2 separate regions of the Homo sapiens genome follow, and region 1 is linked to region 2. Evidence: promoter capture Hi-C in human tissues and cell types (Jung and others, 2019). All regions are on one chromosome and are shown on one strand. The core of a region is centred on a gene start or on the middle of the fragment in contact, and the rest is flanking DNA. Distances in the headings are between cores, read along the strand shown. Region 1 holds the start of TMEM150B (transmembrane protein 150B). Region 2 holds the start of SYT5 (synaptotagmin 5).

Region 1 (4,850 bases), core at 2,273-4,772, 150 kb after region 2:
ATCCACATAACATTAGCCATTTTAAAGTGTACGACTCGGCCAGGCACGGCGGCTCACGCCTGTAATCCCAGCAGTTTGGGAGACCAAGGTGGGCAGATCATCTGGAGTCAGGTGTTTGAGACTAGCCTGGCCAACATGGTGAAACCCCATCTCTACTAAAAATGCAAAAATTAGCTGGGTGTGGTGGCGGGAGCCTGTAATCCCAGCTACTCCGGAGGCTGAGGCAGGAGAATCCCTTGAACCTGGGAAGCAGAAGTTGCAGTCAGTCCAGATCATGCCATTGGACTCCAGCCTGGGTGACAAGAGCAAAACTCTGTCTCAGAAAAAAGAAAAAAAAAATGTGCGACTCAGCGACATTAGTGCACTCCCAATGTTATGCAACCATCGCCTCTTTCTTTTTTTTTTTTTGAGACAGAGTCTCCCTCTGTCACCCAGATTGGAGTGCAGTGGCGCAATTTCGGCTCACTGCAACCTCTGCTTCCCGGGTTCAAGTGATTCTCCTGCCTCAGCCTCCTGAGGAGCTGGGATTACAGGCCGGTGCCACCATGCCTGGCTAATTTTTGTATTTTTAGTAGAGATGGGGTTTCACCATGTTGGCCAGGCTGGTCTCGAACTCCCAACCTCAGGTGATCCACCCGCCTCAGGCTCCCAAAGTGCTGGGATTACAGGCGTGAGACACTGCGCCCAACCTTTTTTTTTTTTTTTTTTTTCTGAAACAGAGTCTCCCTCTGTTGCCCAGGCTGGAGTGCAGTGGCACAATCTTGGCTCACTGGGACCTCCACCTCCTGGGTTCAAGTGATTCTCATGCCTCAGCCTCCCAAGTAGCTGGGATTACAGGTGCCCGCCACTATGCCTGGCTAATTTTTGCATTTTTTGATAAAGACAGAGTTTCACCATGTTGGCCAGGCTGGCCTCAAAATGCTGACCTCAAGTGATCCCCCTGCCTCAGCCTCCCAAAGTGCTGGGATTACAGGCGGAAGCCATCGCGCCCAACCCGTCTGGTGTATTTTATGCTCAGTGTAATGTTTTTGAGATTCATCCATGTTGTGGCATGTATTAGTGTTTCATTCCTTTATTTTTTATTTTTATTTTTTAAACAGCCAGGGTCGGCTGGGCAAGGTGGCTGACGCCTGTAGTCCCAGCACTTTGGGAGGCTGAGGCAGGTGGATCACCTGAGGTCAGGAGATCGAGACCAGCCTGGCCAACATGGTGAAAACCTGTCTCTACTAAAAATACAAAAAAAAATTAGCTGGGTGGCCGGGCATGGTGGCTCACGCCTGCAATCCCAGCACTTTGGGAGGCCGAGGTGGGCAGATCATGAGATCAGGAGTTTGAGACCAGCCTGGCCAACATAGTGAAACCCCGTCTCTACTAAAAATACAAAAATTAGCCGGGTGTGGTGGCAGGCACCTGTAATCCCAGCTACTCGGGAGGCTGAGGCAGGAGAATCGCTTGAACCCAGGAGGCGGAGGTTGCAGTGAGCCGAGATCGCACCACTGCATTCCAGCCTGGGCGACAGAGTGAGACTCCGTCTCCAAAAATAAATAAAATAAAATAAATAAATAAAATAAAAAATAAATCCTGTCCCAGTGGGGCTGATAGAGGGCAAAGCTCTCCAAGTCCTCCTCACCCCTTCTGCTGCCAAATGCCTCTCCTCTGGGTCTCGTCTTCCTCCTTTCGCTTCTTTTTCCGGAGGTCTCCGTTTGCCCAGACATGAATCTGAGCCACCCCCTGCCCTCAGGGGAATCCCTGTCTGTGGGCAACACAGATGATCAGCAGGTGACAGCTCCTCTAAAGGAAGTCACACAAAGCTATGAGGGAGCCCAGGGGAGGGAGGGGTCCATGCTACCTGCTCCTCCGTCGGCCCTCAACACTGATCTCCTGCCCTGCCCTGTCCTGTGTTTGCCACCTGGCTGATTCCCACTTCTCTTCCAAAAACATAATAATAATAAAGACGAGAAAGCCCAGGTGATCCTAAGGAAGACTTGTCCCCGCTCTGAGCCTCCATACCCAACTCGGTGTCCTGGCACAAAGATGAGTTTGGCTCACTGGTGTCCCCACGGTGCTTATGTGACCTGCTTGGACCCTCCCTGGGAGGACAGGGGACAGGGCTCCAGCCTGCCGAGCTACTTTCAAGTTGGGAATTAGGCCCCACTCACCGGCCACGGGTAGGTTGGGTGTCTGGAGCCTGAAGGATCCTTCCAGAAGCTAGGGCTGCTGGCCTGGCTCAGCCGAGGGGAAGAGGCTGTGCTTTTCCTCTGAGAAAGATGACGTTGCACTTTCATATTGAGGAAACCGCTTGTGGTTGGTGGTGGGGACTGGTTTTTATTTTTATTTTTATTTTTTTATTTTATTTTTTATTTTTGAGACGGAGTTTCGCTCTTGTTGCCCAGGCTGGAGTGCAATGGCGCGATCTCAGCTGACCGCAACCTCTGCCCCCGGGTTCAAGCGATTCTCCTGCTCAGCCTCCCAAGTAGCTGGAATTACAGTCATGCACCACCACACCCGGCTAATTTTGTATTTTTTTAGTAGAAACAGGGTTTCTCCATGTCGGTCAGGCTAGTCCCAAACTCCTGACATCCGGTGTTCCACCCGCCTCGGCCTCCCAAGTGCTAGGATTACAGGCGTGAGCCACCGCGGCCGGCCTATTTTTATTTTTATATCCCTAGATGTCTATGTCCCCTGCCTGGAAGTTTCCCCAGAGAGGGGATGTAGACGTCTAGGAACACAGAGGTCTCAGAACCTTCCCCAGGGAGGGGATGTACACCTCTAGAGATAGATGGGTCTCGGACCTCTGTTTTCTTGTCTGCAAAACAGGGATCATGATGGTCTGCCCTCGTGCAATTGTGAGGGTTTATTGGGGTTATCCACATAAGACCCTAAAAGAATGCCTGTCTGACCGGGCCCGGTGGCTCACGCCTGTAATCCCAGCATTTTGGGAGGCTGAGGCGGGTGGATCACCTGAGGTCATGAGTTCGAGACCAGCCTGGCCAATATGGCGAAACCCCGTTTCTACTAAAAATACAAAAATTAGCTGGGCATGGTGGCGGGCGCCTGTAATCCCAGCTACTCAAGAGGCTGAGGCCGGAGAATCGCTTGAATCCAGGAAGTGGAGGTTGCAGTGAGTCGAGATTGTGCCACTACACTCCAGCCCGGACGACAAGAGCGAAACTCCCTCTCAAAAAAACAAAAAAGAAAGAAAGAAAAGAAAAGCAAGAGATTGACTGGGGATGAGGTTGCTGAAGGATAAAGGAGGAGAAAGGCCAGGCGCGGTGGCTTAAGCCTGTAATCCCAGCACTTTGGGAGGCCAAGGCAGGCGGATCACGAGGTCAGGAGTTCAAGACCAGCCTGGCCAATATGGTGAAACCCCGTCTCTACTAAAAATACAAAAAAAAAAAGAAAAAAAGAAAAAGGAGGAGAAAGACCAGGAGTGGCTGGGAGAGACTTCAGACTGCAACGTGAGTGGGTCTGGGTCTGACACTGGAGAAAGGAGATGGGGAGAGTGGAAGAATCACAGACCATGTGCAGTTCTGAGAACCCCGGTCAGGTCAGCTGGGAAATGTGGTGCAAAGATCACCCATACGCAAGTCCATGGAGACCGAAAGCAAGTCAGTGGTTGCAAGGGGTGGGAAGAGGGGAGGATGGGAAATGATTGCTTATTTGGAGTTTCCTTATGGGGGTTATGAAACTGTTTTGGAACTAGATAGAGACGAAGGTTGCACAACATTGGGACTGTGCTAGACGACACCGAATTATACTTTAAAATGCTTAGAGTGGGCCGGGCGCCGTGGCTCACGCCTGTCATCCCAGCACTTTGGGAGGCCGAGGCGGGCGGATCACGAGGTCAGGAGATCAACACCATCCTGGCTAACATGGTGAAACCCCATCTCTACTAAAAATACAAAAAAATTAGCCGGGCGTGGTGGCGGGCGCCTGTGGTCCCAGCTACCCGGGAGGTTGAGGCAGGAGAACGGCGGGAACCCGGGAGGCGGCAGTTGCAGTGAGCCGAGATCGCGTCGCCGCACTCCAGCCTGGGCGACAGAGCGAGACTCCGTCCCAAAAAATAAATAAATAAATACATAAATAAATAAATAAATAAATAATTTAAAAATTAAATTTAACTTTTTTTTTTTTTTTTTGAGACGGAGTCTCGCTCTTTGGCCCAGGCTGGAGTGCAGTGACGCGATCTCGGCTCACTGCAAGCTCCGCCTCCCGGGTTCAAAGGATTCTCCTGCCTCAGCCTCCCGAGTAGCTGGGACTAAAGGCGCCCGCCACCACGCCCGGCTAATTTTTTTTTTTTTTTTTTTGTATGTTTAGTAGAGATGAGGTTCCACTGTGTTATTCAGGATGGTCTTGATCTCCTGACCTCGTGATCCGCCCGCCTCGGCCTCCCAAAGTGTTGGGATTACAGGTGAGAGCCACCGCGCCTGGCCAAAAAGTTAAATTTAATAAATAAATAAATAAACACTTTAGCACATTGACTTTAGAGGTGTCCACATTGGGCAGAAACGGCCAGGCTCTGCTCCCCACCCCATGCTTAGTCATCGGTCAAGGCTGCATAAAAAGAATGTAATAGCAATCCAAATCAAACACTGCTGAAGGTGCTACTGCTGGAGGCTGGAGACCAGCTGAAGTCCTCCCTGCTAATCAAGTTCTTTCAGGAAGGGTGAGCCACCTGGCTACCGTACTTGCCCAATGTCACTCAGCTACCGAGTGGAGCAGCTTGGGTCTGTCTGGCTGTAAAGTTTGGTTCCTTCCTATGTGCCATGCAATGCCCTTGAATATCCCTCCTTATCTTCACCCATCCAACCTTCTCCTGAAACATCCATTTATCTGTGCATATGTTCATG
Region 2 (4,703 bases), core at 1,755-4,254:
ACTCTTTGTTCCCCAAATAAGCCTCAGAATCTGGATATGGGGCCTGAATCTGGATATGGGGCCTCAACACATGCTCCAACTTGGACTAGAATGTCCTTCTCTCTGGTCTCAGTTAACTCTGTCCCTCAGGTCTCAGTGCAGAAGTCACCTCCACCACGAAGCCTCCTCTGTCTGACCCTCTGTTTTAAACTTTTTCCTACTGTAAATATGTCCCATTTTCTGAAAAAAATCAGCATATTTTAAAGTATTCTGGCACAAAGCTGGTTTTCAGCTTTCAGAGCCATTTATTTATTTATCTATTTATTGGAGACAGAGTCTCGCTCTGTCACCCAGGCTGGAGTGCAGTGGCGCGATCACAGCTCACTGCAGCCTCCACCTCCCGGTTTCAGTGCCTCAGCCTCTCGAGTAGCTGGGATTATACCACACCACCATGGCTGGCTTTTGTATTTTTAGTAGAGACAGGGTTTCATCATGTTGCCCAGGCTAGTCTTGAATTCATGACCTCAGGCAATCTGTCCACCTCAGCCTCCCAAGTGCTAGGATTACAGGCGTGAGCCACCGCACCCGGCCCAGAGCCAAATATTTATATGTTTCTGTAGGTTTCTATACAGTGGGATGCCTTTTCTGTGCTCCTATGAGACCCTGTAGTATGGCACATATTACCCTGTGTGGTGAGTGTCTGTGTCAGTGCCTGACTCTCCCACCAGACTGGGAAGTTCTTGGGAATAGCAACTAGTTCTGTTCCATCTCTGGGTCCCCAGAGTCCAGTTGAGGGCTAGACACACAGGGAGGATGAGCCAGTAAGGTGGGTTCCTATAGGACAGAAGGGAGCAGGGACTGGGACCAGCTGGGCCATTGAGAGGAGCAGGGTGCGGGAAGGGGCCAGGTGGAGGGGCTGGGCTGGGCCACACCTTGTCTATGTAACTCTGGCCCAGCCCCTTCACTTCCTGAAGGTGGACCTGGGCTTGGGCCTGGCTCTTCTTGCCTGTCCGCCTCCGACAGCTCTTCCGGTAGAGACAGAAACAGCAGCTGAAGATGAGGAGGCCTGAGACCAGCACGATGGTGGCCAGGGCCCAGGGGGGCACTGCAGAGGGGTGGAGACAACACACATTGAGGCCTGGGCAGCACGCAGGCTGATTCAGTCCTGATTACACGTGGAAGCTGGAATGCTGGCCTCCTTTTCCCTCCAGCCATTTTCATTGCATTTCTTCCTGTGTTTTTCTTCCACCTAATGTGGCCTATAGAGAGATTCGATGCCCCAACCCAGGCTGACACCATCTGGATTTGCTTGCTTGTTAGTTCTGCCTTTCCTTACCCGACCCCGCCCCCCATTTCTGCTCAACTCCTGATGCTTTTACAAGAAGCCCTGCTCCTCATCGGGCCTGTTTCCTTATCTGTAAAAGAAGAGCTAGGTGGACCTTCCAATTCTAAGATCCCATTCCATGCAACACCCCTTGATCCGGTTTCGATTTTTTTTTTTTTTTTTTTTTTTTTTTTTTTGCAAATCTGTTCCTTCCTTTTACCCCATTTCGTTCGCATTCCAGTCCAGGATGACGACCCGGGATCCCAGCCGGATTTTCCAGCCCGCCTGCCCGAGTACACCCGTCCGAATCCCGCCCCTCGGAATCCTGGCCAGGCTTTCTCTCTGCTCGGCCCCCCACCCCCGGGTCTTGCTCACCTGGGCCGTGGCTGATGCGACTGGAGTCGGGAGGCGTGTCGGGCGATGGAGGCCCCGGGGTTGGGGGCTCCGGGAACATGGTGGCGGGGTCCTGGAGTCTTTTCTGCAGAGACACTCAAGCACCCTAGTCCCCCATTCCCACCCCAGACGTCCTTTGAGCCCCACGCACAACAAAGAACTCCAACTCCCATGAGGCCTTTGCGCGAACAGCCGCGCAGAAACCGGACAGCCACCGCGAGTCATGCTGGGAGTTGTAGTATCAGCCTCCCCGCACTTGAGAGGGGGTGTCCAGGACCTAGTTCCATCCTAAAGGGATACCCTCTTCCTCCACGGCCCCACAGGCATCCCGCTGACTTCTGCCTCGTCCTCGCCCCTCCGCAGGGTCTGAACCGGAAGCGGGCGAAGGCAGACGTGGGAACCAGCAGACCGCGTTGCCCAGAGCAACAGCCGGGCTCCTCTCAAGCGGGGTGAGAGCAAAGCTGGTTGCCCGGGCAACGGGTTGTTGCCAGGACAACGGGCGGGGCTGACGCACAGACGCGGAGTCCCGGCGGGGCAGGCTCGCTCCGGGGCCCACCGGTGCCTGGGAACCCCCCAATAGCCCGACTGGGATCCTGAGGTCCCGCGAGGTGGGGAGCGGGCAGCCTGTGGTCCGAGCGCCCACAGCCGACTGCTCCCTCCGCACCTGGTCCTGGGAGCTGAGACGCAGGTTCCCTCTTCCCTCTCCCCAATTTTGCTGGAGGGCGGGTCGGGGGCTGCCCGGTGCCTGTGCTGAGCCCCCTCATCCTTCTTGGCCTGTTGGTCTCTCCACGCATCCGTGCTGCTCTCGTGACCGCCTCGGTCTCCACGCTGCCTCTTGACCCCACATAGGCGTCTTCCCTGTGTCTGCCTCCCCAACCCGCCTGTCTCTCTTCCCTATCGCCTGGCCTCTGTCTCCAGGGTCTCTCCCTCTCCCCTCCGCCTGCGCCCCACTCCCCGCCCTCGGCTCTTTGTCTTCTCCATACCTGTCTCGCGTCCCCAGATCCCTGTCTCTCCGCTTCAGGCTGCTGCCCTCCCTCTGGTTGTCTCCCCAGTGCCCCAGCCCCCACTCGCACACCCCTTTCCTCTAGGGATGCGGATGCGGATGGGCTGAGGGCGGGGGTCCCAGCAGCTCCTACCTGCTCGGCGGCTGGACGGGACACTCCCGGGAGACGCCGAGGCGCCAGCCCCGCCCGGACCCCACCCCCTGCACGTGGGCGGTGGCGCTGTCCCGGGTGCTGATCGCGGAGCTCTCCGGGGCGGGGGAGCCGCGGAGCGGAGCAGGATCCCGTGCGCGCGTGTGTGCCCGTGTGCGTGTGCGCGCGTGTGTGGTGTGTATTGTGTGTGCCCGTATTTGGTCTCGGGTAGGCGGAAAGCCCTGCCCCGCCCCTCCTCCCGCCTCCACCCGGGAACCTCGATGACGCCCACAGATGTTTATCCTGGTGCTTTAGCATTTTCTGCCTTCTGGTCCAGTCGTTGGCCGTCCAGACCACTCCACTCCTCCCGCCCCAACACACACGACACACACCCTGTATAGCCCAAAGAACGGCATGCCAGGATACTCAGTCCTAGGACCTAGGAGACCCCAGACCCCCATTGGAGACCCAGACTCTGCAGGGTTCAGCATCAAAGTCCCCAGCTATCAGCCCCCAGACATCGCCCTCTAAGTTCCCCTAACACCAGTCCCAGGAGGCGGCCAGTGCGGTGGCTCATACCTGTAACCTCAGCACTTTGGGAGGCCGAAGCAGGAGGAATGCTTGAGCCCAGGAGCTGGAGACCAGCCTGGGCAACATAGCAAAATCCCGTCTCTACAAAAATGAGCCAGCGTGGTGGTGCGCACTTGTGATGGCAGCTACTCTAGAGGCTGAGGTGGGAAGATCACCTGGGCCCAGGAGGTCAAGGCTGCAGTGAGCCACTGCACTCCAGTCTGGGCAACAGAGCAAGACCATGTCTCAAAAACAAAAACAAAAACAGAACAAAACAACAACAACAACAACAGAGAAGAGTAAAAGAAAAGCTCAGAAGGCAAGTCCCCAAGCACCTAGCTCCAGCGAGCCCTGTCCATACTGCCCAGACCCTGGACACAGACGTCTGGACACTGCCTTCTCTGAGAGACTCAACCACCCAAACCTACATTTTTTCATGTGCAAATGTGTGGGTCCCTCTAGTCCCCTCCTGGACGTTCGCCTCGATCCCTAGATACCAGGAACCCATCCCTACTCCCAATCCAATATTATTTCCAGACCCAGAAATCCATGGGACAACTGTCTCTGGGGAGAACAGTGATTTAATAAATTATGGGATAGAAGGAAAAATACATGTGGATGGTGGGGTGCAGAGAGACCTTGGGCACAGGGACTCCCTCCGACCCCAGATTATAGAAGACTGATTTGGTTTCTGAAGTAAAATCAAGGCAGGATCCTTCCTGCCTTTGGTCCTCAAGTAGCCAGAACTCCAGACCCAAATTCCTTCCTGCCTCAGAATCCAGGCCCCAGCCTGTTTCTTTCTGCATCCTGGAAAGACCTAGGGAATCCAAGCTATCATCCCTCTCCTCCTTCAGGGAACCAGGAATCCAGATCCCCAGCTCCCATAGGACTCATCTGAAGCCCACCAGACCACTCTCTCCTGGGGAAACCAGAGTTTGGGATACCAGCCCCCTCCTCCCACAGCACCCAGGAGTCTGGGAGCCCAGCCCTCTGCTCTTCCAGGAATCTGGGCTCAAGTGGGTGTCCAGAGCTTGAGGATGCCTGGGCTGCCGACCCAGCCCCCTCGTCACTTAGACCTCCAACTTGTGGGCCTGGATGGCGGCCACGTTCTCGTAGATGAGGTTTTCGACATCCTCATACGGGACTTCCTTCTCGGCTGGGGCCTGGGCTGACTGTTGGAGGAACCGCAGGATGCACTGATGCAGGAATACGTACTGAGCCTGGGAAGCAGGCACGGGAGTGAGAGGCGTCCCCCCAGGTCTGAGCTGCGTGGAGCCCCAGGGTCCCTCGTCCCACTGCCTCCC

Evidence for each region. The method cuts DNA at HindIII sites, captures the fragments that hold promoters and counts their contacts. A contact is called where the count stands out against the background at its distance.
Region 1: a contact is called between a fragment that was not itself captured here and the fragment with the promoter of SYT5 in region 2, in 1 of the 25 tissues and cell types used here (dorsolateral prefrontal cortex).

What each region holds. Positions count from the first base shown.
Region 1 is chr19:55,323,113-55,327,962 of GRCh38, forward strand. TMEM150B (transmembrane protein 150B) reads right to left here and starts at 2,229. Exons shown (of 8, transcript NM_001282011.2): 1 at 2,160-2,229. The HindIII fragment of the contact is 8,762 bases long and covers 1-4,850 here.
Region 2 is chr19:55,177,285-55,181,987 of GRCh38, forward strand. It overlaps SYT5 (synaptotagmin 5), which reads right to left and starts at 3,005. Exons shown (of 9, transcript NM_003180.3): 1 at 2,833-3,005; 2 at 1,679-1,802; 3 at 912-1,084. The coding sequence starts at 1,757. PTPRH (protein tyrosine phosphatase receptor type H) reads right to left here. Exons shown (of 20, transcript NM_002842.5): 20 at 3,963-4,619. The coding sequence ends at 4,470. RefSeq lists an enhancer at 2,471-2,550 and silencers at 2,538-2,950, 2,831-3,020. The HindIII fragment of the contact is 16,640 bases long and covers 1-4,703 here.